Linked DNA regions of Homo sapiens: regions 2 and 3 are each linked to region 1. The links are contacts of gene promoters, found by promoter capture Hi-C in blood cells and fetal thymus (Javierre and others, 2016). All regions are on one chromosome and are shown on one strand. The core of a region is centred on a gene start or on the middle of the fragment in contact, and the rest is flanking DNA. Distances in the headings are between cores, read along the strand shown. Region 1 holds the start of HMGA2-AS1 (HMGA2 antisense RNA 1). Region 2 overlaps MSRB3 (methionine sulfoxide reductase B3). Region 3 overlaps MSRB3 (methionine sulfoxide reductase B3).

Region 1 (3,198 bases), core at 494-2,993:
ATGGCAAAATCTCATCTCTACTAAAAACACAAAAATTAGCTGGGCGTGGTGGTGCGCGCCTGTAATCCCAGTTACCCGGGAGGCTGAGGCAAGAGAATTGCTTGAACCTGGGAGGTTGGAGGTTGCAGTGAGCTGAGATTGGGCCACCGTACTCTAGCCTGGGCGACAGAGTGAGACTGCGTCTCAAACTAACAAACCGAACCACGAGATTATTTTTCCCAGTTTTCAATTGTGTCCTGAACTCTCTATCTTAAACAATGCATAGGTATGAAAATAACAACTGGTACATTGATTTTAATAGGGGAGAATTTATTTGGAAAGCAAGAATGTTTATTGTAAACTGTGCCTCTTTCTGGAAATATTTACAATTTTCAAAGAAGTGGCCTTAGCAAAACTGTTAGTACAGCCCTTGATTTGCAGGTGAAAAAAAAGCAGTGCATAGACATTAACCTAAATTCAAGTTAGGATTAAGGTCAACATTAAGGGGTAAGCAGGACATAGCACAGTGACTAAGTGCATAGGAGCATTTATTAGCTGAGTGATCTTGAACAAGTTATTTAACTTCTCTCTAAGTCTCACTTTCCTCATCACAAAAGGAAGAAATATTTCATAAGGTTGTTGTGGAAACTGAGGTAATATATAGACAGTACTTTGCACAATACCAGACACCCAGTAAGGGCTCAAGAAATGGTATTGTTGTTATCCTTATCTTTAACAAGTGATTCACAACCAGTTAGTGTCAGAACAGGATGCAAAGCACTTTTGGAGTATCTGTTGCTATAAACCGAGTTCCTTATCCTTTGCATCTATCTGGGTCTAAGGAGGCAAGATCACATAGCATTAACATTTTCCACAAATGTGGTGTGATCCATCGCCTTTCCTCTTCTTTCACCCCTAGAGTAAGCCTTCAGCCTCTTAGGAAGTGTTTTCCATCAGAATTTAGCTTTGAAGTTGAACATTTTAAACTCTGTTGGGAAGGTTCAGACGCACATTGACAAAGAAGATAAACAAAGAGTCAGGAAATCTAAACGGGGAAGATGCCATGGCTCACATTACCTGCTTCCTCCTAGTTGGAGTTGAGCTCTTCCTGGAAGCGGGGCAGAGTCTGCCATTTGATTAAACAATTCAACATCAAAGCTGAACAAAAACATATAATCAATCTGATCTTAATTCAAGTGTGCCTACCCCTCCTTGTGAAAAGCAGCCTTGTTTTAAAAAATATTTCCCTAGCAGATCAGGTATTTTTGAACAACTCCCTATCGTTTCTGCTTCACTTCCATCTCAAGTTCTGGTTCACATAACTAGCCAACATTTACTGAGGGCCCATTAAGTGGCCAGGCATTGTGCCAAGTGCTTTGTTTATGCTTTCTCATTTAATTGTCACAACAACCCTTAGAGGTATTTTCTCATCCCCATTTTACAGATGAGATGGAGGCTGGGGAGAGTAAGTCACTTGTCCAGGGTTACACTATTAAGAGCTGAGCGATTAAAACCAAACAGCAGTGGGGACAGGCCCTCAGGAGACATTTCTACTCCTGGCTTGGTCACTGCTCAGATACGTCACATGTCTTCTAGGCCTCAGTTTCCCGGCTTGGAGAGGATGCAGCCTCTCTAGAAGTTCCCTTCCACAGCCTGCGGCAGCTTCCCAGGGCGGGCGGGCTGCTTTGTTTCCACACTCAGCTGCTGTGGCTGGGGCCTCCCTGGGCTCTGCCCTGTTTTGTTTTTGCTGCTGGACCTGCTACAGACGCAACCCTGGCAGCGCAGCCCGGAGCACAGCCGAGGCTTCCTCTTTCTCTCAGTTCCTGGCTGCTTCAGTATGAACAGAAAAGGTGGGCAGGGGCCAACTGGCAGGAGCCTCCGAAATAGCAGCACATGATCCTCCTACCAGCAGCAGAAAGGCCAGCCCGCAAGACCTCGCCGCCTGCCCAGCTCTGTCATTGACTAAGGTTGCTTTTGTCAGTACAGCCGCCAGGGGTTTCCACGCTCATTCCCCTCCGGACAAGGTGGACAGCTTTGGTGATAGACAACTGGGAGGTAAAACTCCACAGAGCCATGCCAGCGACTGACCGCCCAGGGACAGGAGATGGAGACGTTCAGCTGCAAAGGCTACGGAGGAACCCCCGCAATTGGAATCTCTCCATGCCTTCTGCAGCATGGAAACATACTCCGGGACCTACCGGGGCTCTCTCGGGCCACCTCTGAGTGCAAGGGAAAAGAGTGCAGTTCAAGGAAGGGAATGTGTCTGTCATCCCACCACTTGCGCGCAAGGCCAGTTCCGGGATCAGCAGGCTTCCTTCACCAGCACGGGCTCTTCATTAGCAACCACTGGGAGGGAATGTGTGCGGAGTCAGTGAGTGAAGCTCTCCTTCAGCAATTTCTCTCCTCCTCTCATATTTCTCCCCTCTCTCTCTCTCTTTCTCCCTCCCTCCCTCCCTCCCTCCTTCGCTCCCTCTGGGTCCAGGACAATACTCAGGCCAGGACAGTTCCAGTCATAACTGGATCTTTCCATTACTTGGTAGCACACAGGAGGATTTGTTGGAGTGGTTTTTTGTTTTGTTTTGTTCTGCTACTATTAAGCAAGATTGCTTCATAATCCTTTAAGGGTTTTTTTTAGCCAAGTCTTATTTACATATCCTGGCCAGCAAGCACGTGATTAACCCAAGGATGTTGGAGGGAAGGCAGATGCTACATCTGAAAAAAATCTGATTATGTTTCATTCTGGAGATACAAACAGCCGAGCTGTCAAAAGGACAACAGTCTCTTGGGCCAACATGACACCAAACTCTCAAACTCTGGAGACCCTCAGAGACAAGGAGGAGGAGCTGCTGAGGTAGGGGCACAGATGCGAGGAGTTCTTCTCCCTCTCTCCTTCTCTTTCACTATCTCCACTTTGGGGGCAAAGTGTCAGGATAGCCAGAGGTACACATAATCTAATACATGGAAATGGTGGTAAACTGCCTGTCAATTCACCGCACCACCATAATATGTCTAAAATGTGGTGCCTGTCTACAACTTACATGCCACCCAGAAAACAAGCTGCACTGGCATTTCTGCATTGACAGAAAGGACATTTGAAAATTTTCCCTACAGGCATTATTTCAACTGATATTTACGAGTGGTTTTATGGGATAGAATCGTGCCAGTCATATCAAGGAACTTTTCATATCTTTCAACCCATGCTAAGATAAATAGAGCCAG
Region 2 (3,198 bases), core at 344-2,843, 600 kb after region 1:
TTTTGCTCTTGTCGCCCAGGCTGGAGTGCAGTGGCATGATCTTGGCTCACTGCAACATCCGCTTCCCTGGTTCAAGTTATTCTCCTGCCTCAGCCTCCTGAGTAGTTGGGATTACAGGTGCCCACCACCATGCCCGGCTAATTTTTGTATTTTTCATAGAGACAGGGTTTCACCGTGTTGGCCAGGCTGGTCTCAAACTCCTGACCTCAGGTGATCTGCCTGCCTCGGCCTCCTAAAGTGCTGGGATTACAGGCGTGAGCCACCACACCCAGCCTGTGCTGAGCATTTTAAAAGGAAAACCCATCATGGGCAGGAAAGAGAAAATACAGAATATTCAAAGTAAATCCTTGAGATACAGCAAGAAGAAATGCTAACTAACAACTGGCAAATTAAATAGCTGATTACCCTTCCATCCAAATCCAGTTTAATTCTGCTAAATCAGATAGGTAGATCCAATTCAATCTTCTCTGAGGTAAGATCAAAAGGTGATAACCCATTATAGGCTATTTCATCTGGAATGCTCACAGATAACTAGCCTTCCCAACCACAGAAATGTTTGGATGCTCTCTGGCGGTATCCCTAACCCAGACCTAAATAACAAAACTGAATATCAAACTGTCTTAAGGCCTGGGCTTAACTATCCCCAAAAACCAGTTAGGCATTTACCCTATGACATAATCAGCACTTTCTGCTATTAGATGAGGAAGAAAAAGTGATAGAAGCTTAACACGGAATCTGTCCAGGTATGTATGTATCTTTGTGCATGTTCCAGGTATTAACACAATCCTGAGACAGATCCGGACTCTCCAACACTGGACCACACCCATCACATCTGGCTAAGGTAGGCCAGTTTGACATGTATAGCAAGTCACAGGCTGACAATCAGAAGTTTGAACCACATGTAGTAGGTGGCTCTGAAGAGTTACATAAACAAAAACAACATTATAGGATCTTGGAGTTAGAAGAGACATGGAAACTGTCCAACTTAATAATTTTACCGAGAAGCTAAACATGGGAATCAAATTCATCAACCAAATCCATAACTATGATAAATTAATTATACAGGTGCAGATAAATTAGAGGGATTGTGACCAGATTATGACAGAACCAAAAATGCAGTGGTGTGATCACGGCTTACCACAGCCTCGATCTCCCTGGCCCAAGCAATCCTCCCACTTTGGCTTCCCAAGTAGCTGAGACCACAGGAGTGAGCCACTATGCCCAGCTAATTTTTTTTTAATTTTTGTAGAGACAGGGTATCCCTATGTTGACCAGGCCGGTCTCGAACTCCTGGGTTCAAGCAATCCTCCCACACTGGCCTCCCAAAGTGTTGCATTACAGGCATGAGCCACCACACGTGGCCTTAAAATCTATTTTTAATTATTAAATGGCATATGTATTAGAAAAACTGATGAACCTTACTGTTGGGATAGTCTTTGGATATTCTTTTGAGTTGAGCAAAATAGCAAGGATTTCTGACTTAATGGATTAACATCTTAGTTAAAATATTAGAACAAGCACTTTTAAAAACAAAAAGCAGTGTGTTGATTCAAAATCTAAATTACATTGTATGCTGCAACCTTGCCATACAAGCAGTTTAAGCACTGTGACAAAATTCTAGATAAGTAGCAAAGAGCTACTTATCTTAATATAAAAATTTCCAGATATTCATATAGGGCCCTAATAAAAGTCATCAGAAATTAGACTGATATATCAGCTGGGACCGGAATTAAAAGAATATATGTTTAAATGGTCCAAATATAAACTTGATGTTCAAAATTACTGGCAAGGGGCCAGTACAGTGGATTCTGGTCTTCGAAGGCCGTTTCACCACAAGTATTAGGTAAGTCAACACATCACTGAGGAAAAAGAAAGCATACATATGTTTCCTGGCAATAAAATCCACTCTTCACTATCCAGCACAGTATTTTTTAGAAATCCATTGAAAAATGTGAAATTAGAACCTGTTGTATTTCCCAAGAAGTGCTATTAAAGTTACTTCCAAAATATGAATCTATAAAAAACAGGGTTTTTTTGAAAAACAATACTATGCAGAAAGAAACATGAAACTGATATCACTGCTCAAGTTACTATTTACAAATTGCAAATTGAATAAAGTTAAATATTGTAAATATCTGCCATTAATCTGAACTGACAATTTTATAAGTTATATGAACCCTGAAGTTTTTTTATAGACAAAATTGTTTTTGAAAATCGATCTTGCCACCAGCGCTGCAAATGAAAATATGAAGAGATAAACCAGAGAGTACTGAATATAATCTATGCTTCATAGAGTCATGTTTCAACTAATTTATGAGTCCTAGTTTGCCATATCTTATTTGACAATTTAGTCTATTGGTAGAAAAAACAAAAGCAAACTAAAATCTCCTAAGAAATCTCAGCTCTAAGGAATTATAATTTATATTCTTCCATTCCCGATAAAATTAAGAAGCAAGAAGCTTTGACGACTACTCATCACAAACGTAAAAGTCCATGCAATTTCACATTTACCTTTATCCCTACCTTTGTACTTTAAAATAACTGCTTTTTAAAATAATAATCTGATATTAAATTCCCCCCAACAGTTCCCACATGATTCAAGAAGATTATCTTATAAAGTCTTACTGTAACGACTTCATAACTGCCACTTCCGATAGCTATTAGCCCTAAACCAAATAAGGCAGGAACAGCACTTTTCATTCATATAGTTTGACTCGAAATAGCCCAGTGTAAAACTTCAAAAATAGACTTGGATGCCTTTTTCTGCTTAAAAACAAAGCAAAACTGATACCTGGCAAACTCGGGGTTCTGTTCGATTTTGGCCTGTGAAATGCCAGGCGGGCCCGCTGGAGTCTGGCCCAGCAGCGGGGCAGCAGCGCAGGGAGGGCGGGCGGCGGGTGCGCTCCCGGGTGCGCCCCTCCCTGCCGCCTGCCCGCCGCCCCGCACCCCCGTCCTCTCCGAGGCGCGCGGCGAAAAGCGCAGGCCTGGCGGGCCGGTTCCCACGCCTCGGGCCCGTTATCTGAGCGGCAACCCCGGCAGGGTCGACGCACAGAGCAGAGGGCTCCGGGATGGACCCCTCCCCTGCCTCCCGCGGGCTGCCCCGCCAGATCCCTCTCTCCTGGGCCCGCGCGGGGCGAGAGGCTCCCGCGGGTTCAGGTTCGCTCCCGGGACAGGATAAGGTGTCAGTGAGGCTGCCAG
Region 3 (3,198 bases), core at 333-2,832, 560 kb after region 1:
GATAGGTGAGTTTCTGCTTAATTCAGTACAGACTTCTTAAAAATTATTTTATTCTCATGTGTTTGTTGGAAGGGTTGTATCTTAGTTAATACTGTCACAAAATCATTAAATGCAAACTTAACATGACAAAATGACTTGGTTAAAATTATTCTTTTCAATGGCATAATTAAAATATGTACAATTAAAATCAAACAATTCTATCCAAAATATTTTTGTTAATATACGTTCATTCATACAAAAAGACCAATTGTGTTCCCAAAGTTGAGAGAACTAAGCTACCCATCTGTATGTCATTTAGTACAAGAGAAGCAACTGCAGGTTTAAATTACATGGTATTGGATTGCAATTTCCTAACATTGGATGCTTTTCTGCCTTTTTACCTTGAGTCATTTACTAAGGAGTGTTCATAAAAAGTAGCTTAAAGCACAGATGCTTGCAAATCATTTAGGCAAAGATGTTTCTCTCTTTTTCATTCTCCCTCTCTCATGAATCTCTCTTTTCCGAAGAGAATAAAACCGTTGGTCAGTATTGATGAACCATGTCAAGTATTTGTACAAGAAAAAAAGGTAAAATTGAAAACATCTGATTGAAGTAAATAATACAAACATAAAAGCTTTACTAGTGAATGAAGGGTATTGAAGAGACTTTATTTCATAGATTAGAAATTACTTTTGATCTAAACATTCTTAAAAACAGATTGTTTTCCACTATGAAACATCTCATTAACTGTGCTACAGAGACCTCGTTTTAATGGCAAGCCTTGAAAGAGTGCTGCTGTACTCCTTTGTTAGTCTCCGTCTTATTTGGGAGGGGAATAAAGATTTCATTCCAGCTTTCTTTGTTTGTCTTTCAAGAACCACTAAAGCAGTATTCACACAAATTTTGTAGGAATGTGCCCTATGTCATAGCCTACAAATTATTTGGTTTTGGTGCACTTAAAGGTCATCTTCCAAATTAGCAAAATTTTTTTACATCCTGGCTTTTCAACCTTAAGTATAAATATTGTTTCCTAACTGTAAGTGAGGTTTGTCCTTTAAGAAATACTAGTGATTATTTAAAGTTGTCAAACTTTGTACATTTTCATTCTTTGGTTATACTATATTCTCAAAATAATTAGGTTTTCAAAGTATATCTAATACCAAAAGGAAATATATGTAGACTAGAAACAACTATTGTGATTTTACATTAAACAATTCAATGAGAAGTTGGTCAGATTTTAATAAATATCTTGCCACACCATTTAATAATAATAATATACTTCCTGGACAATTTAAAGCTATACTATTACATTAGCCCTTCTATCATCAGAACCAAATATTGGTATATATAAACACAGAAAAGCTTCACTTTTGTCTCTTATTTCCCTTCTCCCTATCAGACTCACTTTTCTAAAGTCATATGGTGCCACTGTTAATCTTGAAAAAATCATTTCATTTTGAAATTCTGGAGTAATTCATTGGATGGTTTCCCTTTACTATCTTCACTTAGGTACTGTAATTTTCTTATTACACAGGGTAATTTAACATTAGTATTATATGACATCTGTTCAATGACCTCTAAATTGGCTTAGAAGTATGTTTGGGAAAGATTTTTCCCTTTATTTAAATGTTTAATAGTGTCTTTTGAAGGCACAAGTGAGTGTGTGTGTACACACATGTAACACAATTACATATTTGAGGAGATAATATTGCCATTTTGGTATCTAATCATAACACCGTTCCTTACAGAGTAACTTTGAGATAGATCAGTTCCATCTTGAACATAGTCCAAGGATATTTTATTTATTGAAATATGTCCAAAGTCTCTTTTTATAGCGAAGCTTGTCCTGTGTTGTTGCCTCAAGGCCAGTATTGTTTCGAAGCCCCAGTATGAAGCTCTTGCTATTAGTACAAATAAACGTACAGCAACAGTTTGCTTTGTGGCTCTGCCTGCTTCCCAGCCACGTGACCTGAAGCAAGTCACCTTTGCTATGTGTTGCCACCCTCAAAGATCTGCTATAAGGATCACAGCCATTAGCACTTACTTCATTTTGATTACAGTGAATTCTGAGGTTAAAATTGTATTTTAAAAGATAGCCAGGTCCAGTATTTAGTGTGCAGCAATCTTTTATTGGTAATTCTTTTTCTATAATAATTCCCTGGGAACAGTATTTTCCTCACACCTTATCTTGTTTTTATGATTAAAGTGGGAAATGAAGGAAGAAAATAAAACTAAAATTTGAGTCCTCCTACATGCCAGGCACATGTCTAGGCACTTTCACATAAATACATTTAATCTTCTCAATAATTCTAGAACGTGGCTGTCATGCCCATTTTACAGATACAGAAACTGAGGCGTGGAGAGGTTATAACATACCTTATTAAGGACAAACAGCAAGTAGACTTATCAACTCAAACCCAGGGCTGTCTGACTGCAAAACTCATAGTTGTTATATTTTCTTTCTTCTTCTTTTTTTTTTTTTTTTTTTTTGAGATGGAGTCTCGCTCTGTCACCCAGGCTGGAGTCCAGTGGTGTGAGTTCAGCTCACTGCAACCTCTGCATTTCGGATTCAAGCGATTCTCCTGCCTCAGCCTCAGCCTCCAGAGTGGCTGGGATTACAGACGCCCACCACCACACCCGGGTAATTTTTGTATTTTTGGTAGAGATGGGGTTTCGACATGATGGCCAGGTCTCGAACTCCTGACCTCAGGTGATCTGCCCGCCTCGGCCTCCCAAAGTGCTGGGATTACAGGTGTGAGCCACCACACCCAGCCAGTCATCATATTTTGTCAGGAAAAATTATGTAACAACTTTTCTTCTTTCTTCTCTAACTATACAATAACTTTCAGCTTAAAAACTAACAAAATAATAAGGGGGAAAAAGTAATAATCACCTCAGTACATCAGAAAAGTTACATACATTTATCTATTAGCCAATGTCTCTTTTCCCTGTATTTACTCCTTCAACATAGGGTCAGTGACAAGTTTCATACAGGATTCTCACAAAGTCTATGAAACGTTGAAAGGCTTTTTTAACTTCCTATTAAGAAGTAAATTAGATCTGTTACCTAAACCTTAGAGTACTTTTAAGTCATAAATTTTATATTTCGGTGTGAAAAATCAAAACAAAACAAAACCTAAGGATCCCATAACTTTAATTTTGGTTCTAGAATCAGAAAAAACGAAACTATTAAATATTTTCCCAAGATAATAAATGAAT

The links. Contacts are between HindIII fragments. The CHiCAGO score rates a contact against its expected background, and 5 or more counts as called.
Region 2: a fragment that was not itself captured here is called in contact with the fragment with the promoter of HMGA2-AS1 in region 1 in 1 of 17 cell types (endothelial precursors); the score reaches 5.8 in endothelial precursors.
Region 3: a fragment that was not itself captured here is called in contact with the fragment with the promoter of HMGA2-AS1 in region 1 in 1 of 17 cell types (megakaryocytes); the score reaches 6.9 in megakaryocytes.

The regions. Positions count from the first base shown.
Region 1 is chr12:65,880,870-65,884,067 of GRCh38, reverse strand. HMGA2-AS1 (HMGA2 antisense RNA 1) reads left to right here and starts at 1,743. Exons shown (of 3, transcript NR_158985.1): 1 at 1,743-2,350. All of the region lies in intron 3 of HMGA2 (high mobility group AT-hook 2), which reads right to left. The HindIII fragment of the contact is 6,963 bases long and covers 1-3,198 here.
Region 2 is chr12:65,279,111-65,282,308 of GRCh38, reverse strand. All of the region lies in intron 1 of MSRB3 (methionine sulfoxide reductase B3), which reads right to left. Among named protein-coding and RNA genes, the nearest start is that of MSRB3, 2.0 kb to the right of the region's middle. RefSeq lists a silencer at 2,877-3,186. The HindIII fragment of the contact is 1,737 bases long and covers 725-2,461 here.
Region 3 is chr12:65,321,932-65,325,129 of GRCh38, reverse strand. The region is part of intron 2 of MSRB3 (methionine sulfoxide reductase B3); the gene reads right to left. Among named protein-coding and RNA genes, the nearest start is that of MSRB3, 45 kb to the right of the region's middle. The HindIII fragment of the contact is 478 bases long and covers 1,344-1,821 here.